Linked DNA regions of Homo sapiens: region 1 is linked to region 2. Evidence: promoter capture Hi-C in 16 types of primary human blood cells and fetal thymus (Javierre and others, 2016). All regions are on one chromosome and are shown on one strand. The core of a region is centred on a gene start or on the middle of the fragment in contact, and the rest is flanking DNA. Distances in the headings are between cores, read along the strand shown. Region 1 overlaps LOC105371773 (a long non-coding RNA gene). Region 2 holds the start of GJD3 (gap junction protein delta 3).

Region 1 (5,805 bases), core at 1,062-3,561, 160 kb before region 2:
CCTGGGCACCCACCAGGGATACAGCAGTGGGTAAGGCAGACGCCATCCCTGCCCTCCTAGAGCCTGCAGTTAAATATGCAGCTTAATGGAAGGACACACATCTACCCATTATTTCTTTTTCCAAGTGGGCTTGGAGGGGACAAGAGAAAGATTTTTTCCTTTCAATTTTTTTTTCTTTATTGCTTAAATTTTTATAACAAGCATGTTACTCATTTGTGACTTTTTAAAAAATGCTTAACTTTTTTTTTAATCCAAAAGGCCAGCCCTTTGGAAGCCTCTTTGTTGTCTTCCCGAGAGCGATGGCTGGGACACAGCTGCAGTAGTGGCACCACTGTGTGTGACTGCTGGACCCTGCAAGGTTTGCCCTGAGTGTGGATAACTGAGAAGAAGTAGGAATCTTCACAATCCAAATGACCACTTAGGAACATTTAATGGCTAAACAAGTGAAATATTTGTAATTGTCCACTTATTTGTGGTGTGTTTGATGTCTGTCTTTTCTATGAGACTCTAAACCCCAAATGGCAGGGGCCAGGTTTGTTTTGTACATCACAGAGCCAGCTGCCAGCACACACTCAACACATACTCAATAAAAAGGGGTCAAATGAATGAAAGAACACCGAAGCTTGGGATGGCCCTCATGGATCATCTAGTCTAACCTCCTCATTTTATATAATTGGTAAAATTGAAGCCCAGAGAAGTCAAGGGACAGAGTGAGTAAGTGGTAGCCAAGACTCAGAAGAGCCTTATCACTCTCAATCCAGGCTCTTACCTTCAAAAAGAAAATTTAAAAAAATTTTTTTAAACCCACATGATACACATTTTATAGTAAGATCAAAAGACATACAAACAAGGATAGAGAAGTATTGTCTAATAATTATCAGAATTTTAAACCAGTGTTTTCATCTAACTTTGGCTTTTCCCGCTGGGGCTAAATATTCAACAGATGTTGGGGTTTGCGGGTGCTAGTTAATCACATCCCTCACTTCTCCGAGGTCTGATCCAATTGAGAAATAGTCACAGGAGACAAGTAGGGATTAAAATGTCAGCTTTATTGCTAGTCCAGATGGACTGGAGGATGTGGCTAAGACCCAAGGCCCAAATGAGCTTTCTGTGTCTTCTCCTCTGACTTGAACTCACTCACCCACTCGCGGCAGAGCAGCTGGACTATTGAAGTCCTCCCAAGCAAGGGCTGGACCCGCCCTGGTGCTCATTGCCTGGAGGAGGCAGGAGCAGACAGAGAACATGCTGCTTGCAGTCAGGTCAGTCCCAGAGAGAGAGCCAGGAACAGGCTGAGCCATGCACACTTGATACCCTTTTCCCAACGACACCAATCCAAGAGGTCCCTCCTCCTCTCACAGAGAGGAACCAGTGAAGATTGTACAGAGAAAATCGAAAAGTTCCTTCCCAATTCTTCCAAGAGGTTGTCAGTTCCTGTTTTATGGGCTGATAGGAGAATGGGGAGGGGAGATAGTTGCCCCCTTAACAGAGCCTTCAATTCATTCAATACCTTTTCATAGAATCTGAAAACTTCTGTGTTACAAGAAGCAGCTCTGACGTGAAAGATTGTATCAATTGAAAGTGAATTTGCTGCAAATAACAGAAAATTGAGATCAGTAACTTAAACTAAAAAGGGACATATTTTTCTAATGCAACAGGAAATTCAGAGGGGGGCAGATCTGGGCTGGGCATGCTCCATGATGGTGCCAGGGAGCAGGACTCCTGCCTTTCTGCTCCACCATCCTTAGAAAGTGGCTTTTGTCTTCACACTTTTAAGATTGCTCCTCCACGTCTAGGCATCCTGTCTACATTCCAGACAAGGCAGGGAGGACAAAGGGACAGCTAAGTCTGTCCCTTTTTATCAGGAAACTGATAGCTTTTCCAGAAACTCTATTCAGTAAATGTGTGTTTTCATCTCATGGGCCAAAACTGTGTCACTTGCCCCACTCTCTGAAAGGGAGTCCATGAAATTGAACTTTGAACTTGGCAAAATTGGATTCTTTTCAATAAAGGAAGAAGACTGAATATTGGGTAGCAGAATGACCTCCACAAAAGGCACAAAATGGTGAAAGAAAATAGAAAATATTGTCCAAAAAGTGTTTTTTAAAAAAAGATGTGGACAATTGTTTTTGCAAACATTCAAGAAGGAGATTATTCCCTGTGCAAACACTTTCAGAGAATAAAAACGTAGAAAACTCAGTTCATCTTACAAAGCTAGCATAACCCTGATACCTAAACCCAATAACAGAAAACACACACTAAATAAACAAATTAATTAAAACTACATACCAAGCTAACTTATAAGCTGACAAAAATTCCATGCTTTTCTCATTCTTGGTTTCTCCTTTGTTTTACTGCTGCACATCCTCTATTGCTGTCTTTTTTTCTAGGAGCATTACCACAAGGAGTCTATAGGAAGTAAACTTCCTCAGTCCTCATGTATCTTAAAGTGTCTTTGATTTGCCCTCTTAACCAGTAGACAGTTTAGCTAGGTATTGAATTCTAAGTTGAAAATCTCTCTCTCAGAACTTGGAAGAGATTGCATCATTGTCTTTTGTCATCCAATGCTGCTAGTGAGAAGTCTGGTGACTTTCCGATTTTCATTCCTTTATAGGTGATTTTTTTCTCTCTGGAAACTTTTAGCATCTTCTTATTTTCCCAAGTATTCTGAAATTTCTAAATCTTGTGTGTTTTTTTTTTTTTGCTGGGGGCTTGCCTGATGAATCCTGTTATTCTGAAGACTGGAGTGTTTTGTCTAAAAAATTCTGTTCAGTCATTTATTTGAAAATTCTCTCCCTTGATTTCTCCCTTCTCTCTGAAATCTTTATAAATCAAACATGGACCTCCTGTATTAATTTTTTATGTCTCATATATTATCTAATAAAATTCTGTTTCTTTAACCTTTTGCTTTATTTTCTGAGAGATTACCTTGACCTTAACTTTCAACATTTCCAATGAATTTTAATTACATTTTTCTATGTCTGGGGCTTTTGTGTTCTCTAATTGTTTCTCTTTTCATATCACTACTCATGTTTTATAGATTCAGTGTCTTCTTGAATTCTTTTTTTAAGTTCTATTCTACGTATGAATTGTCTTTGTTTCCTCAGAGGTCTTATTTTCACTTTGCTTATCTTAGTCTCTCTATTTCATATTTCAGGCTTCCTCAAATAGCTTCTGGCTTATGGTTGTCCATTCATATTTAAGAATGAAGCAGTAGAAAACTTTCCTGGAAGCTCTGTGTACATGGATAAGAGGAGATGAATGGCAGGCTTTGTTTCCACGTAAACTGATCTTTATGCCTTGAGATTTCTAAATGTCAGCCTGCAATGTGCTTTGTTCTCAGATGCCACCTTAAAACCCAGCTATCCTAGTCTTCCTCAGGCAATTTAATTTCTTTAAAGAAGAAATTAGGGGAAGGAGCAAAATGGGGGACAAAGCAAACATCTGCTGGCTGAACAGTTTGCATATAAGAGTCAGGGATTTAACTGTTCCATTTTTAGACTTCCAATTAAGCTCCCCCTTTTCAGCCACATATCCCTTTCCCACCCTCCATTGCACCTAGCACATCCAAGTCCTGAGCTTCTCTGTGCCTCTGCTGGTGGGTCAGCTCCCTCTTTGGCTGCAAACCCAGCCATGTGCATTCCACACAGCAGCTTCCTCTGTCCTGCTTACTCAGTCATCCTTCCCCATCGAACCACTTCTCCAGAAATTTGTTGGGATTTCTCTTGTCCACAGGTGCCCCCTCCCAATTCAAATTCTCCTTTGGAAGCATTGATATGTTTATTATTTATTACAAAGACATTTCTGGAAGAGGTAAAGATAAGCCCATGTGCATTTAGTCAACCCTCTTGGATTGGAAGTCCCACTGACCTTGTAATGAAGGCTGGTGGGCATGGGTGTGTGCTTTTACATAGACAGACCTGAGCAGACTGTGCAGTCCTTCTAATCAATGACACATTTACAAGAAACTCAAAAATATGCACAGAGATGGAAGGAAAGCTTTTTTTTGTTACATAACACATTTCAGTGTCTGTTGATTATAATATATTTTAAATACGAAACTAAAATTATACGTGTCCCTAAAGCACCTCCTCAGAACCCTAAAAATTTTGTAGAATATACTGGGAAAACCACTGGCATGATTAAAAAAAAAAGAGCATGGAGTTTGGAGTCAAACAAACCTGATTCAAATCCTGGTTCAACCATCTGTTCTCTCCAAATGTTAGTTCCCACATCAGTACCTACCTTCTCAGATTGCTGTGAGGATTAAGTGAGATAATATATATGCAGAGCACCTAGCACAGAATCCAGTGATTAGTAGGTGCTCAATAAATGCTCATTGCTATTCCTCCTTCCCACTCCATACTAGACTACTCACCATGCCCCACCTCGTTCATGCTATTTCCACCTCCCCTCTTCTGTACTTCTTGGGTCTCTGCTTGTTCTTCAAGGTTCAAATCAAACATCCCCACCTTCACAAAATCTTCTCCAACCTTCCGGAAGAGTAACTGCTCTTTCTTCTGTGTCCCCGTGACACCTGTTCATACCTTTGCTGTAGTTCCAATCTCTCTGCAACAAAGAGAGCTTTGCACACACCTGTCCCTCTGGTGGAGAGGGATTCCTTAAAGGGAATCCTCATATTTCCCCTGCACCCAGTCCTATAGCTAGCACACAGTGGGCAATCAATAAGTATTGGAGTCTAATTGAGTTGCAGCAAGCTGAACTGGATTATGAAGATCCCAAACCCACTGCCAGGCAGAGATATGAAAGCCAAGCTATCATGGCCAGGTGCGGTGGCTCACGCCTGTGATCCCAGCACTCTGGGAGGCCAAGGCAGGTGGGTCTAAGACACAGTCTGTGAGCAGGATCCTGTTCTCAGTCCTCGAGCAGAGCCAAAAGGAGGAAGAGCATCACCCACACTGGGAGTTGCAGGTCTAATGAAGAAAGCAGGACAGGAAGAATCCCTGTCCTCAAGGAGCTTCTCATCTAATATGGCGGGGGGTGGGAGGGCAGGGAAACAAAATAGAGTCCCAGGCTTCAAGTCGCTCCCAGGCTGATGTGATCCAACCCACACTCAGGAAACACCCAGTCCAATATGGGAGACAGTACATGTGCACACAAGTGTCATCCAAATTGAGAGGATACAGCACCAGTCACTGTGCCTACTGTGTCCCTACTGTGTGCTAAGCATGTTACTTAGGGGTATCACTTATAAGGCCGTCATGCAAATGGTCCAGTCTCAAAGCTGCGTTATCATCAAGGATGGCAACCAGGCTGGGCGCAGTAGCTCATGCCTGTAATCCCAGCACTTTGGGAGGCTAAGGCAGGAAGATCACTTGAAGCCAGGAGTTTGAGACCACCCTGGGCAATATAACAAGACCCTGTTGCTACAAAAAAAAATTGGCTGCAGTGAGCTATGATCTCACCACTGCGTCACTCCAGCCTAGGCGACAGAGCAAGATCCCATCTCAAAGAAAAAAAAAAAGAGACAGAGTGGGAGAGGAGAGAGAGAATAGCAACCAAAAAATAATAATTTCACAATAACTCTGTTTACTTGAATTTCTTAAACTTGACTACAAAGATTCATGGATCATAGCGATGCTTCTCAAATCTCCTTTCTCCCACCCACTCTCTTCCCTCACCCATTACAGCTGCTCAAACCTCCCTCCTCCCTCAGTCTTGCTGCTAATCCTTCTTCCCTCTCTCTCTCTCCTCCCAGTTCTATATCGCCTATGCCTAAGGACTATTCCAATAAATCAGCACCTTTCATAGAGGGTTAAGGGAGGCGTGCGCGCACACACACACACA
Region 2 (6,272 bases), core at 2,130-4,629:
TCTGTGAAAGCAGGAACTCTTATAACCAAACCCTTTCTCTCCAGTGCTCAGAGCACCAAAGTTTTCTGCTGTCTTTGGAAACTTGTCTGCAAACAGCTCGAAGGCGACACAGCCCAAGGGCTCACTGCCAGCGGCGATGTTGAAGAACATGGTGGGGTTGACCATGGCTGATAGTTACTGGGTACAAACACATACGTGCACCTATGTGTGTCTTACATGAGCAGTGGCCCCACAATCCGATGGCCAGGGAGAGGTGTCTGGAACAGAGACCGGAGCGAGGCAGGATTGGCCTCTCAGCCCAGCCCCAGATTTTTTTTTTTTTTTTTTGAGATGGAGTCTTGCTCTGTTGCCCAGGCTGGAGTGCAGTGGTGCCATCTCGGCTCACTGCAAGCTCCGCCTCCCAGGTTCACGCCATTCTCCTGCCTCAGCCTCCCAAGTAGCTGGGACTACAGGCGCCCGCCACGACACCTGGCTAATTTTTTGTATTTTTTAGTAGAGACGGGGTTTCACCGTGTTAGCCAGGATGGTCTCGATCTCCTGACCTTGTGATCCGCCTGCCTCGGCCTCCCAAAGTGCTGGGATTACAGGCGTGAGCCACTGCACCCAGCCCCCGGCCCCAGTCTTTAGGCATGGCCGAGAATGGGCCACCGGCTGCCAGATGGAGGCAGCGTCAGCAACACCTCCTCTCAGGCTGGATGGCGCTATCAGGGAAGGAGGACCGGGCCTGAGATTGTAGAGTCTCTGGGTCTGGCCCTGTGGCATCACAGGCTGCAGACAGCACAGGGTGACTGTAGGCTCTCCACTTCCCACCCCACCCTGGCCCACCGCCTCAGCTGCTTTCCATTCCCGCAGGGCTGATGGGCTTTTTCCAGGTGGCGCCAATGGCCTGACCCAGCAGGAGCCACGGGACAGGACGGGGTGGGGACCATTCCTGGACAGTCAAGGGAGATGAGATGTGACCCTGAGCCCCTGTGGCTGGGGGCAGGGGGCCGGTAGCAGCTTTGCCAGGGGCAGAGGGAGGTCGGGAGGGTGAGGCCAGCAGCGCCCCCAACCCACATCCTGTTTTCAGAATCTGGGGCTCCAGCATGTGCTTTTTCCCTTGGACTTTCTCCAGGGCAGCGTCCCCCACCCAGGCCCACTCCCAAGGGAAGCCTGCACGAGGGCAGGAGGGTTCCCCAACACACACAAGCAGGAGTTTACCTAGAGTTTTTCCTGCGGGGGCTGGGCCCCTGAGCTGGAGGGAGTGGTGGGTGAAGGGTACGTGCCTTCCCCTTCCTGAAAGTGGACCTGGGGGTCTGCGTCAGCATATGGAAAACCACACAGGCACCCATGGCTGATAGGGAGAGGAACTGTGACCAAGGAGGTGAGTCCTGCTGCCCTTCTTCAGAGGGGCAGGCATGACCTCCCTCCAGTGCCTGCACCCACCAGCCCCACACAAGGCTGGCATAGAGGCAACCCCTCCTGGGGACTGTCAGGCCCTGGGACAGCACCTGGGAAGCCCAGCCAGGCTGGATGGAGGACAGTTCCATGAAAGGCTCAAGAGCTTGGGCTCAAGAACTAGTTGGGCCTCGCATAGGCCTGGATCTGCTATTTACCGGCTGCGCGACAGCAGGCAAGTGGCTTAGACCCTCTGAGTCTCAGTTTCCCCTGGTGTAAATAGTGCCCTCATGCCACCATTGACAGAGAATCGAATGAGCTCATTGGCATATGGAGCTAACGGGGTTCCACACGGGGACTGGCCCAGCAGGTGCATAGGTGAAGCGGGTTTTGCTATGCACTCAGGCGGACCCCTAGGAAGGCAGAGCAGACAACCAAACATCTCAGCCTGGAGTGTCCCCTCCCTGACCACTCAGATCACCGTCGGTCACCCTTACTCCCTTCTCCATAAAACAGCTTCCCCCGCCACCCAGGGCAGTAGGAGGGAACTCTCAATTCAGAGCCTTCTGGGGGGAAAAAGTCCTATTTTTCACATTATAAAATAACATGAGGCCGGGCGCGGTGACTCAAGCCTGTAATCCCAGCACTTTGGGAGGCCGAGGCAGGTGGATCACCTGAGGTCAGGATTTCGAGACCAGCCTGACCAACATGGAGAGATCCTGTCTCTATTAAAAATACAAAATTAGCTGGGCATGGTGGCACATGCCTGTAATCCCAGCTATTCAGGAGGCTGAGGCAGGAGAATCGCTTGAACCCGGGAGGAGGAGGTTGCGGTGAGCTGAGATCACACCACTGCACTCCAGCCTGGGCAACAAGAGCAAAACTCTGTCTCAATAAATAAATAAATAAATAAATAATAAAATAACATGTTAGGCCGGGTGTGGTAGCTCACGCCTGTAATCCCGGCACTTTGGGAGGCTGAGATAGGCGGATTGTTTGAGGTCAAGAGTTCGAGATCAGCCTGGTCAACATGGCGAAACCCCACCTCTACTAAAAATACAAAAATTAGCCGGGCGTGGTGGCGCACACCTGTAATCCCAGCTACTGGGGAGGCTGAGGCAGGAGAATCGCTTGAACCCGGGAGGCGGAGGTTGCATTCAGCCAAGATCATGCCACTGCACTCCAGCCTGGGCGACAGAGCTAGACTCCATCTCAAAACAAACAAATTAAAAATAAATAAATAAATAACATGTTCATTATAGTAAAGCTGGAAATAACAGAAAAGTGGGAAGGAAACCAAAGATTTTATTTAACTATCAAAGCCAGGCACTTGGGATATTTTAATGGTTTTCCATATGGGATTTTTTTTTTTTTTTTTTTTTTTGCAGGCACAAGGGTTTTTTTGGTTCTCTGTAATATGGTTGGGAATTCAATATTAAGAAGTAGAGAATCCCAGCTACTCAGGAGGCTAAGGTGTGAGGATCACTTGAAGCCAGGAGTTCAAGATCGACCTGGGCTATGTAGAGAGACCCCGTTCCAAAAAAGATGTAAAGCTGGAAGGAAACTTGGGGGTCAGCTGGACTGGCCGCCTTTGTTGACAAGGCAGGAAAGCCTGGCTCAGTACCGCCGAATGATTTGTCCAAGGTGAGCGGTGGCAGAGCTGGAACCAGAAGCTGTTAGATGTTTGCTGCCCCTTAAACTCCAGCACCAAACCTCCCTCTGTCCCCGAAGACCATCTTCACAGGGCATGGTTAGTGCGTAGTGGATCTAGGCTCCAGACTGAGGGTCTGTCTGGGAAGGGCTTCTAGGAATCCCCCAGCTTCCTCGATAAAGGATGTGGCTCTGGTTACCCCCCTCCCCCATTTCCAGATGGAAATTTAGCTAAAGAGTGAGGGCCACAGAGCCCAGCAAGGGGCGTGGTCCGTGCCTGTTCCCAAGGGCGGAGCCAGCCAGCAGGGTCACCCTGTTCCTTTAAGAGAAGGGGGAGCGCTAGCCCCTCTCAGCCATCCTGTCCTGTCCTCCATCCTGGCCAAATCCGAAAGGGAAAATGAAAGAGGGAGCAGGAGGCGCCGGTCCCAGCCACCTCCCAAGGTCCCTGGCTCAGCTCTGACACCCCAGTCCCGGCCCCAGGGTGAGTGGGGTTGGGTGGCGGTTTAGGGGCACCAGGGGCGTGTGGGGACCTGTGTAAGTGTGGGGTGGGGAGGATCTCAGGAGATGTGGAGGCTGGAGGCACAGGAGGCCAGGGAGGAGGGAGAAGCCTGGCGTCGCACTCCCACCACGCTGGGGTAGGAGGGCAGGGACACCTCCGACAAAGGACCCTGTGAGAGTTATGAAAGCGGAGTTGCCTCTGTACCAGCCCCCCACCCTGAGAGGAGTTCACTGCAGTAAAAATGGTGAGAGAAATGGTGGGCCAAGAAAGGAGTGGTCTCGCTGCCTCTGCCACTCCCACTCCTCCCATGGGCACCAAATTGGGTCTAGCGTCTCGGGTTCGAGGCTCCACTCTTCCCACAGCATCCTTGACAGCTAAGGGCACCGCTGGGTTTCCGCTTCCGAAACCAGGCAAGTCAGGGGCTGGTCCAGCTGATCTCCAAGGTCCTTCCTAAGAATCTGGGATCTGGAGGATCCCAGGGTCGAACGGAGACGGCTCAGGGGGTGCGGCTAAAATGCAAATGGGGGATCCTCCCCAGCACCCATCGGTCCCAAAGAGAAGGTAACCCATAGCTGAGCGTCGCCTGCTCCCCTCGGGCCCTCCCGTGGCCCTCCGTTTCATACTGGTCTCATCGCTAAACCCGGGCCTCTCCTACCTCACGACTCACCCTGAAGTCAGAGAAGGTCCAACGGACCCCACCCCGATAGGCTTGGAAGGGGCAGGGGTCCCTGACTTGCCCCATCCCCTGACTCCCCGCCCCGCGTCCCCAGCGCCATGGGGGAGTGGGCGTTCCTGGGCTCGCTGCTGGACGCCGTGCAGCTGCAGTCGCCGCTCGTGGGCCGCCTCTGGCTGGTGGTCATGCTGATCTTCCGCATCCTGGTGCTGGCCACGGTGGGCGGCGCCGTGTTCGAGGACGAGCAAGAGGAGTTCGTGTGCAACACGCTGCAGCCGGGCTGTCGCCAGACCTGCTACGACCGCGCCTTCCCGGTCTCCCACTACCGCTTCTGGCTCTTCCACATCCTGCTGCTCTCGGCGCCCCCGGTGCTGTTCGTCGTCTACTCCATGCACCGGGCAGGCAAGGAGGCGGGCGGCGCTGAGGCGGCGGCGCAGTGCGCCCCCGGACTGCCCGAGGCCCAGTGCGCGCCGTGCGCCCTGCGCGCCCGCCGCGCGCGCCGCTGCTACCTGCTGAGCGTGGCGCTGCGCCTGCTGGCCGAGCTGACCTTCCTGGGCGGCCAGGCGCTGCTCTACGGCTTCCGCGTGGCCCCGCACTTCGCGTGCGCCGGTCCGCCCTGCCCGCACACGGTCGACTGCTTCGTGAGCCGGCCCACCGAGAAGACCGTCTTCGTGCTCTTCTATTTCGCGGTGGGGCTGCTGTCGGCGCTGCTCAGCGTAGCCGAGCTGGGCCACCTGCTCTGGAAGGGCCGCCCGCGCGCCGGGGAGCGTGACAACCGCTGCAACCGTGCACACGAAGAGGCGCAGAAGCTGCTCCCGCCGCCGCCGCCGCCACCTCCGCCACCGGCCCTGCCCTCCCGGCGCCCCGGCCCCGAGCCGTGCGCCCCGCCGGCCTATGCGCACCCGGCGCCGGCCAGCCTCCGCGAGTGCGGCAGCGGCCGCGGCAAGGCGTCACCGGCCACCGGCCGCCGAGATCTGGCCATCTAGGGGCGGGCACCGCCTCGCGCGGACTGGACGGCGAGGGCCGGACCCCGCCACCTCCGCCCGCACCGCAGAAGCCGGAAGCTGCTTCCACCAGAGCTGTCGCGGGACCTGCCCCGGCAGGAGACGCGTTGTGGGGACGGCCCGCGGGCGGCATCGCACTTGCCTCGTACTGCCTCCCAGTGGCTGCCGGCGGCACCTGGGGCAGGCCGGGCTGGGGGCGGAGAATGAACTCAGGCAGGTCCTGGATGCCACCACCCAGGTGGAAAGGAAGGAGACCAGGACCCTGAGAGAGAGTGGACCCGAGGGGGAGAACAGAGCGGAAGGTGGAGAGTGGTTGTTTTACTGGGGACAAAAACAACTGTGATGCCAGCATTCTCAGGCACTCTCTGTGTTCAGAGAGAGAGTGGTCCCCCTGTGGGCTCTCTGCGAGTGTGCATACACGGACACATAAGCACTGTGAGCTGTGTGCACGCGCACCTGTACACCCTGTGTGAGCGCTGTGCATGTGCGCGCATGTGTACACCCTGCGTGAGGCCCACTTGTGCACACAGACACACGTAACCCTCCCGGGTGAGCTGTGTGCACATGCACACAGAAACATATGCCCCTTGAGAGCTGTGTACTCACATCCCTGTGAGCTTTGTGTGAGTGCATTGTGCACACACGCACATGTCCATTCTGTGTGGGCTGCGTGTGCACACCTGTACACAGAAACATCCTTGTGCGCTATGTGTGCATGTGTACATCCGGCGTGACCTCTGTGTGTGCACGCGTGTGTGTGTGATCTCTGATATGCACTGCGGGGGTGGCCAGGATCCGATGCCAGCTGCAGCCACAATGGCTCCCTCCCTACCACCCTAACCCAGCCCACCTGCCAGGGCATCACAGGAGGTCTGTCCCCCCCTCCCAAGAGACCCCGCCCAGGGAGGGAAGAGGAGGAGAGGCTCCCTTTCCCCGGGCAGGCCTCAATCCTCGGGAGCCTATGAGCAACATCCTCACAGTACCCCTTGTGGCGAGGCGGGGGCTGGGCGCTTTCATGGAGGTGGGGTGGGGGTGGGCGGCGGGCCAGAGGGCAACCCAGACGTGTGTT

What was found. Contacts are between HindIII fragments. The CHiCAGO score rates a contact against its expected background, and 5 or more counts as called.
Region 1: a contact is called between a fragment that was not itself captured here and the fragment with the promoter of GJD3 in region 2, in 5 of 17 cell types (megakaryocytes, erythroblasts, fetal thymus and 2 more). The highest score is 7.5, in megakaryocytes.

Annotation. Positions count from the first base shown.
Region 1 is chr17:40,522,226-40,528,030 of GRCh38, reverse strand. LOC105371773 (a long non-coding RNA gene) reads right to left here. Exons shown (of 4, transcript NR_188623.1): 3 at 4,376-4,566; 4 at 1,029-1,587. Among named protein-coding and RNA genes, the nearest start is that of TNS4, 24 kb to the right of the region's middle. RefSeq lists a silencer at 3,140-3,434. The HindIII fragment of the contact is 3,374 bases long and covers 625-3,998 here.
Region 2 is chr17:40,361,844-40,368,115 of GRCh38, reverse strand. It overlaps GJD3 (gap junction protein delta 3), which reads left to right and starts at 3,379. Exons shown (of 1, transcript NM_152219.4): 1 at 3,379-6,272. The coding sequence starts at 4,301. The coding sequence ends at 5,185. GJD3-AS1 (GJD3 antisense RNA 1) reads right to left here and starts at 5,271. Exons shown (of 1, transcript NR_186704.1): 1 at 2,681-5,271. It also overlaps the pseudogene PPIAP54. RefSeq lists silencers at 4,928-5,037, 5,068-5,147, 5,268-5,337 and an enhancer at 5,165-5,459. The HindIII fragment of the contact is 7,280 bases long and covers 1-6,272 here.